Linked DNA regions of Homo sapiens: regions 1 and 3 are each linked to region 2. Evidence: promoter capture Hi-C in 16 types of primary human blood cells and fetal thymus (Javierre and others, 2016). All regions are on one chromosome and are shown on one strand. Each heading gives the region's core, a stretch centred on a gene start or on the middle of the fragment in contact. The rest is flanking DNA. Distances are from core to core; before and after follow the strand shown.

Region 1 (3,176 bases), core at 495-2,994, 690 kb after region 2:
AATGATCGGAGAACCGCATTGGGAAAGGGTTAACTGAAGCACATGGAGTTCAGAGAACAGGAAGCATGTGCTCAGTGCACAGGGGAGGAGTGAGGAAAGTGCTGAGGAGCATGAGTCAGTGCTTGTTCCTGTCTTGTGACTGCTGGTCTCCTTAAGGCCAGGCTGGGCTAATGCAGTAGAGCTAGACTAAAGCACAGCTGAACCCTCAAGCAGGAACTGAGAGCAAATTGTATTGAAACTGCTTCAGCTGTCGGAGATCGTTTATATGTCTTCCTTTTTTCTGCATTGGTTGGGAATAAAATTGAATCTATTCCAGTAAAAGGACCAGCCCTATCAAGAAAGAGGAAGAAGGAAGTGGATGCTACTTCACCTGCACCCTCCACAAGCAGCACTGTCAAAACTGAAGGAGCAGAGGCAACTCCTGGAGCTCAGGTAAGCTTCAGGAAGAGGAGCAGGCTTCAAGTCCCACAGAGGAAGCTCTGCTACGGCTCTTCCACTCAATCTCTCCAGCAGGCAGTTATTTCTTCATGTTTCCCATCAAGTTTCAGATTTACCAAATTGTATGATAATTGATCATCTTATTGATGCTCAAAGCAATGCACCAAACACATGAGTAAACATAATGTAAATATATATAACATAAATGTGATACCTTCATTCTAGTAGAGTGGAGTGTCAACGTGAGAATCAGGTAAGTACTTTGTCCATGTGTATAAAAACCTAGTTTCTCTAATCCCAAGTCAGCACATCCCATAACAGAAATAATTAGAGAAATAATGTGTATAACATTCTCCTCTTTCTTCGTTTAATGAAACCATCTATGCCCATCTCTTAAACTGGCGAGAGATGGGCAGCAACCTCTCAAGTTTCCAAGAAACATCTTCTTAGGAATAATAAAACTACTATCCAATAATGAAAATGTGCTCTACTTCATTTGGCACTGAAAACGAATAACAGGAAAATCAAACCACTTTCAGAAAAGAAAAAAATCAACCAAAGAAAAGGCTGGACCCAAAGGGAGTAAGGTGTCCGAGGAACAGACTCAGCCTCCCTCTCCTGCAGGAGCCGGCATGTCCACAGCCATGGGCCGTTCCCCATCTCCCAAGACCTCATTGTCAGCTCCACCCAACAGTTCTTCAACTGAGGTACACTCTTCCTGGTCCCATTTTGCTTTGTTTTTTTCAACCCAAAGTAAAGGACTGATTTCACCGGTTACTTAAAAATTGCATCGATAATTTGCTAGTTAATCCAATGTACATATTGAGAAACCACTACATTTTGATCTTTTGCTTTCACAGGGATACTTGATGAACTTGACATTATCTCTGACTGCAGGAAGTTTTCTGTTCTGTGTTGTTTGGGGAAGGGAGAGAGAGCTATGCAGTACAGAACTGTCAGCTGTGGGCTCACTGTCTACTGCTCCCATGTCCTTCATACCTCTTCCCTTGGTTCACTATAGTATTCCATGTCAGACCTCTCCAGCACCTGCTAGTTTGTGAATGAGGTTATCCATACCCTCAGCTCTTTTTCTTGTAGATTAAACAACCTCCCCTGCATTAAAACTGTTCTATCGCAGTTTAAGGAGACTGGGATGTTAAAGAGTAAAGATGTTAAAGAAAACCCTTTCTGAGCCCCAGGTTTCTGTTAGCATGCTACCTGCTAGAGCCCTGACACTGAGAAAGGCTATGGTGGTGGGAATGACACTCTGTAGAGTTTCTGCAGCCTGAACCTACTGAGATGATGGCATTCTGAGGGGTTTATCCTACTTGTGTTCTCACCTGCTGTAAGCAAACTGAATCTTGGGTAGGAACACTATGAAATGTGCTCTTTAAATTGCCCTGTCTACACTGGTGATAACTGAACACTCTTTGTGTCTATAGTTTGTGGTGGGCACCATTTTTCATTTTTTTTTTATTTTTATTTTTTTTTAGTATTTATTGATCATTTTAAATGTCATTTAACTTTGTCTATTTTTAGGCTCTGGCACTTTAAGCTGGTAAGAGAAATAGTATAAGAAATTATTTCATTCTAAAATTTATTTATTTATTTATTGTTGTTGTTGTTGTTGTTGAGACAGAGTCTCGCTCTGTCACCCAGGCTGAAGTGCCGTGGCATAATCTCGGCTCACTGCAGCCTCCACCTCCCGGGTTCAAGTGATTCTCCTGCCTCAGCCTCCCAGGTAGCTGGGATTACAAGCGCCTGCCACTACACTCAGCTGATTTTTGTACTTTTAGTAGTGCCAGGGTTTCACCATGTTGGCCAGGCTGGTCTCAAACTCCTGATCTCAGGTGATCCACCCGCCTCGGCGTTTCAAAGTGCTGAGATTACAGGTGTGAGCCACCGCGCCTGGCCCTAAAATTTATTAAGTTACTTCATGACACTGGCTTTCAGTATCCACTGGTCTTATGTTGCTCTTATGCTTTATTTCTTAAGGTTGATTCTGTTTACAGAAAGGTCATCTTTTCACTATATGGTCTCCTCTGTTACTTCATCTTGCTATTGTACCAGTTTAAGATATCTTCTGCCCTGGCTCGCAATCCCTCTCTATCCTGACTCCAGCTCTAAACATCTGTGCAAGTTTTGGGGCCCTGTGTTATACTGAGGTCACTGAATAGCAGTTCTGTATTTCTCAATTAGACATTTTTCTTTGTTCTCCTGTGCTATCATACACAGAACCCGAAAACAGTGGCCAAATGTCAGGTAACTCCCAGAAGAAATGTTCTCCAAAAACGCCCAGTGATAGTGAAGGTACTGAGTACAACAAAGCCATTTGAATATGAGACCCCAGAAATGGAGAAAAAAATAATGTTTCATGCTACAGTGGCTACACAGACACAGTTCTTCCATGTGAAGGTTTTAAACACCAGCTTGAAGGAGAAATTCAATGGAAAGAAAATCATCATCATATCAGATTATTTGGAATATGATAGTCTCCTAGAGGTCAATGAAGAATCTACTGTATCTGAAGCTGGTCCTAACCAAACGTTTGAGGTTCCAAATAAAATCATCAACAGAGCAAAGGAAACTCTGAAGATTGATATTCTTCACAAACAAGCTTCAGGAAATATTGTATATGGGGTATTTATGCTACATAAGGTAAGTCCTCAAAATTGTTTCGTTTCATTTTTCCACCAACACCTGAAATTAAAAGTCTTGATGTGTGAGATGAAGCTTTG
Region 2 (3,082 bases), core at 96-2,595:
GAGAAAAGAACCTAGGATTTTAGATTTTGGTGGGGATAAAGTTATTTGGTGTAAAATGATGATGAGCTAAAAACTAATGATAACATTTAGACATTTTCAGAAACAAGAGCATTGAGAAAAATGTGCATGCCATGAAGACAAAGGTATGTGATAAAGGAGTACAGTGAGTATGAAAGGAGAGGTGAGGCAGAGCGTGGTGCAGTCAGGAGTGCAGCATTCCAGAGTGAGTGGAGGTTCCCAGCAAGAGGAGGGTGCGGGGAGGAGATGATTGAAAAGATGGATTAGGGGAGAAAGCCACACGTTAGATCACTCAGGCACAGGGTAGGAGAAGTAAGGGCCCTTGAGGAGAAGTTTCACATAAGACAAACCAGCAGCTGGTTACAAAGTGGAAGACAGTCTGAGAGTAAGAGAAGAGTGCAGAGGCAGCAAGAATCTGAAATATGAGGTGTGATGGTGTGAAGCTGGAGTGAGAGACTACTCAAGAAAAGCATGTGCGTGCATTTGGGTAAAATAGAAAGGAAGGGAGAAGCATCAGAGAGAGCAACACTTTGCAAAAAAGAGAGAAAAGAGAGTCCTTGAGACTCTTCCCAGTTCGGTGGACTAGACTCACATTTCATCTGGAAATCACCGGCAAAGTCTTGTACTTCTCGAGCGAATCCAAAGATGTAGACTCGGAATATCTCCTCTAACTCAGCAACCTCCTTATCACTAAAGTTACCTTTAGACCAAGGCTTCAGGAATATGGCAGTGCCTGAGTCGCTATCCCAGCCATGAATCTGCAAATCATCCAACCAGCCTGAGCCTTGAGTTTGTGCCCAGGTACTATTGGTAAAGGACGAGGTCTGGATAACATGAAAGGAGGTCGGCCCCTGGAAGGCTGTGAAGAGTGGAAAAGCAAGATGGTGAAGATAAAGAGAGAAGCAGGAGACAATTAGGAAGAATGGGAATGAAAATGATTTAGAAAACAAGAACCTAGAGTCTAAAGAACACAGGAAGTCTGACACATTTGACTGCCTTAAGGCTTCAGGTTCTAGTCCCAACCACCAGAATGGTTGAAGAGGGCGGGAGACAGAAAGACCCAGACCCTTAGTGTCCAATTGCACCTAGGAAAGCCCTGCTTGCTTTTTAAAATCCAAACCCCTGCACCAGTGCTGGGAGCTGCCAGAGTGACTCTTACCATGTTCACTGTTACCACCAGGAAAGAGAACAGCTAACAGTTGAAATGGCAGCAGCAGCATTTCACTGGGAGATGCAACTTCTTACTGGCAGAGCTGGTATTTGATCTCCAATTTCAGCAAAGCTTTTCCTCAGTACCCTGTAGTGACTTCTTCTCTCTTCCAACTGCCAAATCTCTTCCTCATCCAAACTGCTTTTCAGAGAAAAATGTGCCTCCCACAGCCCTGAGCCTCTTACCTCACCTTTTATTTCCCTCAAGCCCTGATTTTTAGAGTTTCTCTTACCCCCTGACTTCCAGCCGCTCTCCCTGTCCTCACCTTCCTTCATACCTCCTTGGAAAAGCCCCCATATGATTCTGCATTTTCATTTCTCCTTCCTTAGCCTTTATTCCCACATCTATAGGATAAGATGGTGATATTAAGCAATTGCTAAGCTTTTAGTCTGCTTTAACCCAGAAGGATGCTTTTAGTTTATCCACCTCACTTAGTTTCTCCCCCTCCCAGCTGCCTTATCTTCTCTGGCACTCTGTTACTGCCTCTTCCCAATGTTTTCAATGTCTTCTCTTTCTTATATTGCCCTCTTTGTCTGGTGTTCCTTACCCCACATTCTAAACTGGCTGTGAGTGTGTGTGTGTGTGTGTCTGTGTCTGTGTGTGTATGTGTATGTGTGTGTACCGATATTCACTTACATAAAGGCAAAGCATTTAAAACATTTCCTGTACTATAGCACTACAAACCAAAATGCCAGAATCAAATATAATAAAGACTGAAGTTTATAATTCAAACAAAATTATACTATAGCAATATTTGAGGGAAAAAATGACAATTGCTGCTAGCATGTGACCTTCTCTTCAGGAGCTCTTGGCCTATGGAGTTTTGAGTAACAAATATTCATGACATAAACAGAACTCTAGGAGCTATGCTATGTGCACCTCCAGCCTAAGTCAAAGATAACTTTTTGGGTAAGTTGCCATAAGCGGCAGAGCTTTTTTCTTCTCTTGTAATATCTCATAACTGCTGTCTACATTTGGGCATTCATATCACCACATGTGGTATTAATAATAGAGCAAAGAGGTTGCTTTTTTTTATACAAAAAGTTCAGAGATACTTGTTTTAAGATGTCACCTCCTATCTTCTTGTATGCCCATGAAAAATTTTAAGAAGAATTTTTGGATTTTCTCCATTTAGGAAAAAAATCACATATTTGCAGAGATCTATGTATCATGCAGAAATGTGGCAGCAATCGATTCCGAGTAAAGAGGGTTATCACTAACTAATTCTATTATGTGGATAAGAAAATGCAAAGTGAGTAGTGTAGTGTTCTCTATTCCTGGGGACACTACTGGTTCACAACATTAATAAGACTGGTTCACAACATTAATAAGACTAGCCTTCATCCAAGATTATTACTGCCTAATTGATAAATACAGAGCAGCTCTCCAAATTTCAATGTATGTATCTCTTAACAACATTCCCAGACTCCAATACATGACAGAATTGAATCTACTTTTTGGATAACAGCCATAGACAACAGCAGAGACTTAACATTGGCTGTCACAGACATGAACATTACTATTTTTGTGTTTATACGTTTTTTATTTTGGGTAGAACACCCAAAACAGAGCTCAGGAAAAGCTGGTAGACAACCTGGGCTATTTTCCATTAAAATAAGTGAGTTCTTGCAAGACTCCCAAAGTTGAATTGCTACAAACTAAATCTGAAATGTTCCTCATTTTAAAAAATAATCCAAAAGAGTTGGCAGGGCACAGGAGACTATCACAACACTAGCCCCACACTCATCAAACTTTTTTTTTTCTTGAGACAGAGTCTTGCTCTGTTGCCCAGGCTGGAGTGCAGTGGCATGATCTCGGCTCACTGCAGCCTCTGCCTCTTGGGTTCAAGTGATT
Region 3 (3,080 bases), core at 233-2,732, 650 kb after region 2:
CTACTAATTTTTGTACATTGATTTTGTATCCTGAGACTTTGCTGAAGTTGTTTATAATTTCTGGGAAATTTGGGGCAAAGGCTATGGGGTTTTCTGGGTATAGAATCATATTACCTGCAAAAGGAGGTAGTTTGACTTCCTTTCTTTCTATTTGGACGTCTTTTATTTTTTTTTCTCTTGCCTGACTGCTCTGGCTAGAACTTCCAGTGCTATGTTGAACCAGGAGTAGTGAGAGTAGGCAACTTTGTCTTGTTCTGGTTCTCAAGAGGTATGATTTCAGCTTTTGCCTATTTGTGATATGATGTTGGCTGTGGTTTTGTCATAGATGTCTCATTTTGAGGTATGTTCCTTTGATACCTAGTTTGTTGAGGGTTTTTAACATGAAAGAATGTTGAATTTATTGAAACCTTTTCTGCATCTATTTAGATAATCACGTGATTTTTGTTTTTAGTTCTGTTTATGTGATAAATCACATTTACCAATTTGCGTATGTTGAACCAACTTTGCATTCCAGGGGTAAAGCTTACTTGATCATGGTGGCTTAGCTTTTGCTGTGCTGCTGGATTTAGTTTGCTAGTATTTTTTTTTGAGGACTTTTGCATCAATATTTATCAGGCATATTGTCCTGAATTTGTTTTTCCTTTGTGTTTCTGTCAGGTTTTGGTATCAGAATAATGCTGACCTCATAGAATGATTCAGGGCAGAGTCTCCGCTCCTCAATATTTTGGAATAATTTTGGTAGGATTGGTATCAGCTCCTCCTTATCTATCAGGTAGAATTCAGATGTGAATCTGTCTGATCCATGGCTTTTGTTGGTTTGTAGGTATTTTATTATGGATTCAATTTCAGAACTTGTTATTGATCTGTTTAGGTATTCAATGTCTTCCTGGTTCAATCTTGGCAGGTTGTATGTTTTCAGGAATTTATCTGTTTCTTCTAGATTTTCTAGTTTTTCAGCATAGAAATTGTTCATAATGGTCTTTGAGAGTTTTTGTATTTCTGTGGGTTCCATGGTAATGTCCCCTTTGTCATTTCTAATTGTATTTATTTGGATCTTCTCCTGTTTTTTTTTTTTTTTTTGTATATTAATCTGGCTAGTGGTCTATATATCTTATTCTTTCAAAAAACCAATTTTTAGTTTTCTTAATTATTTTTGTGAATTTTCACATCTCAATTTTATTTGGTTCAACTTAGATTTTGATTATTATTTTTCTTCTGCTAGTTTGGGGGTTGGTTTCCTTTTGTTTTTTCTAGTTCCTGTAAATGTGATGTTAGGTATAAATTTAAGATATTTCTGACTTTTTGATGTAGGCCTTTAGTGCTATAAACTTTTCTCTTAACACTGCTTTAGCTGTGTCCCAGAGACTCTGATATATTGTATTTTTGTTTTCATTAGTTTCAAAGATTTCTTGATTTCTGCATTAATTTAATTTATTACCCAAAAGTCATTCAGGAGTAAGTTGTTTAATTTCCAAATACTTCTATGATTTTCAGAGATCTTCTTGGTATTGATTTGTATTTTTGTTGCACTGTGATCTGAGAGTGTGGTTGATATAATTTCTGTTTTTTGAATTTCCTGAGCATTGCTTTATGGCCAAGCATGTGGCCAAGCATGTGGCACAGAGTATGTGCCATGTGCAGATGAGAAGAATGTATATTCTGTTGTTGAGTGGAATGTTCCTTATATGTCTGTTAGGTCAATTTAGTCAAGTGTGAAATTTTGTTCCTGAATATCTTTGTTAGTTTTCTCCCTCAATGATTTATCTAACAATGTTAGTAGGGTGTTGTATTCTCCCACTATTATTGTGAGGTTAGCTAGTTCTCTTCATAGGTCTCTAAGAACTTGTTTTATGAATCTGGTTGTGCCAGTGCTGAATGCACACATCTTTAGGATAGTTAAGTCTTGTTTGTAGAATTGAACTTTTTATCATTATGTGATGCCCTTCTTCATCCTCTTTGATAGCTTTTGGTTTAAGGTCTGTTTTTTTTTTCCTGAAATAAAAGAGCAACCCCTGCTCTATTTTGTTTGTTTTCCATTTGCTTTATAGATATTCCTCCATCCATTTAATTTAAGCCTGTGTCTTTACATGTAAGGTGGGTCTCTTGAAGACAGCATGTAATTGAGTCTTGCTTCTTTATCCAACTTACCATTCTGTGCCTTTTAAGTGGAGTGGTTAGCCTGCTTATGTTCAAGGTTAATATTGATATGTAAGGATTTGATCCTGTCATAGTGTTATTAGCTGGTTGTTATGTAGACTTGATTGTATAGTTGCATATTGTGTCAGTGGAATATTTACTTAAGTGTGTTGTTTTGTGGCAGGTAGCAGCCTTTTGTTTCCATGTTCAGCACTCCCTGAAGGACCTCTTATAAGGCAGGCCTAATGGTAACAAATTCGCTTAGTGTTTGTTTGTCTGAAAAGGATTATGTTTCTTTTTCACTTACAAAGCTTGGTTCGGCTGGATATGAAATCATGGTTAGAATTTCTTTTGTTTAAGAATGCTGAATGTAGGCCTTTAATCTTTTCTGGCTTGAAAAATTTCTGCTGAAAGGTCCACTGTTAGTGTGATAAGGGTTCCCTTTGTACATGATCTGCCTCTTCTCTTTTGCTGCCTTTCATATGTTTTATTTACCTTGATCTTGGAGAATTGGATAACTATGTGTCTTAGGGATTGTCATCTTGTGTAATATCTTGCTGGGGTACTCTGAATTTCCTGAATTTACATGTCAACCTCTCTAGCAAGGTCAGGTAAATTTTCAGGGACAATATCTTCAAATATGTTCTCCAAGTTGCTTGGTCTCTCTCCCTCTCTTTCTGTGATGCAAATCAGTTGTAGGTTTGGTCTCTTTACATAAACTCATATTTCTTGAAGTTTCGTTCATATTTTATTATTTTTTCCTTTATTTTTATCTGACTGAGTTGATTTGAAGAACTGATCTTCAAGCTCTGAGATTTCTTTCCTCAGCTTTCCTCAGCTTCTGCTGTTAGTACTTCCAATTATATTATGAAATTTTTGTAGTGAGTTTTCAGCTCTAGTAGGTTAGTTTGGTTCTTTCTTAAAATGGCTATTTTATCTTTAAG

What was found. Contacts are between HindIII fragments. The CHiCAGO score rates a contact against its expected background, and 5 or more counts as called.
Region 1: a fragment that was not itself captured here is called in contact with the fragment with the promoter of CD1B in region 2 in 1 of 17 cell types (fetal thymus); the score reaches 24.7 in fetal thymus.
Region 3: a contact is called between a fragment that was not itself captured here and the fragment with the promoter of CD1B in region 2, in 6 of 17 cell types (total B cells, fetal thymus, M2 macrophages and 3 more). The highest score is 6.1, in total B cells.

The regions. Positions count from the first base shown.
Region 1 is chr1:159,015,556-159,018,731 of GRCh38, forward strand. It overlaps IFI16 (interferon gamma inducible protein 16), which reads left to right. Exons shown (of 12, transcript NM_001376587.1): 3 at 317-432; 4 at 978-1,145; 5 at 2,674-3,096. Among named protein-coding and RNA genes, the nearest start is that of IFI16, 7.2 kb to the left of the region's middle. RefSeq lists an enhancer at 1-661. The HindIII fragment of the contact is 2,618 bases long and covers 436-3,053 here.
Region 2 is chr1:158,330,186-158,333,267 of GRCh38, forward strand. It overlaps CD1B (CD1b molecule), which reads right to left and starts at 1,346. Exons shown (of 6, transcript NM_001764.3): 1 at 1,178-1,346; 2 at 611-877. The coding sequence starts at 1,238. The HindIII fragment of the contact is 309 bases long and covers 1,299-1,607 here.
Region 3 is chr1:158,982,966-158,986,045 of GRCh38, forward strand. It overlaps a transcript of PYHIN1 not described here. Among named protein-coding and RNA genes, the nearest start is that of PYDC5, 18 kb to the right of the region's middle. The HindIII fragment of the contact is 1,925 bases long and covers 521-2,445 here.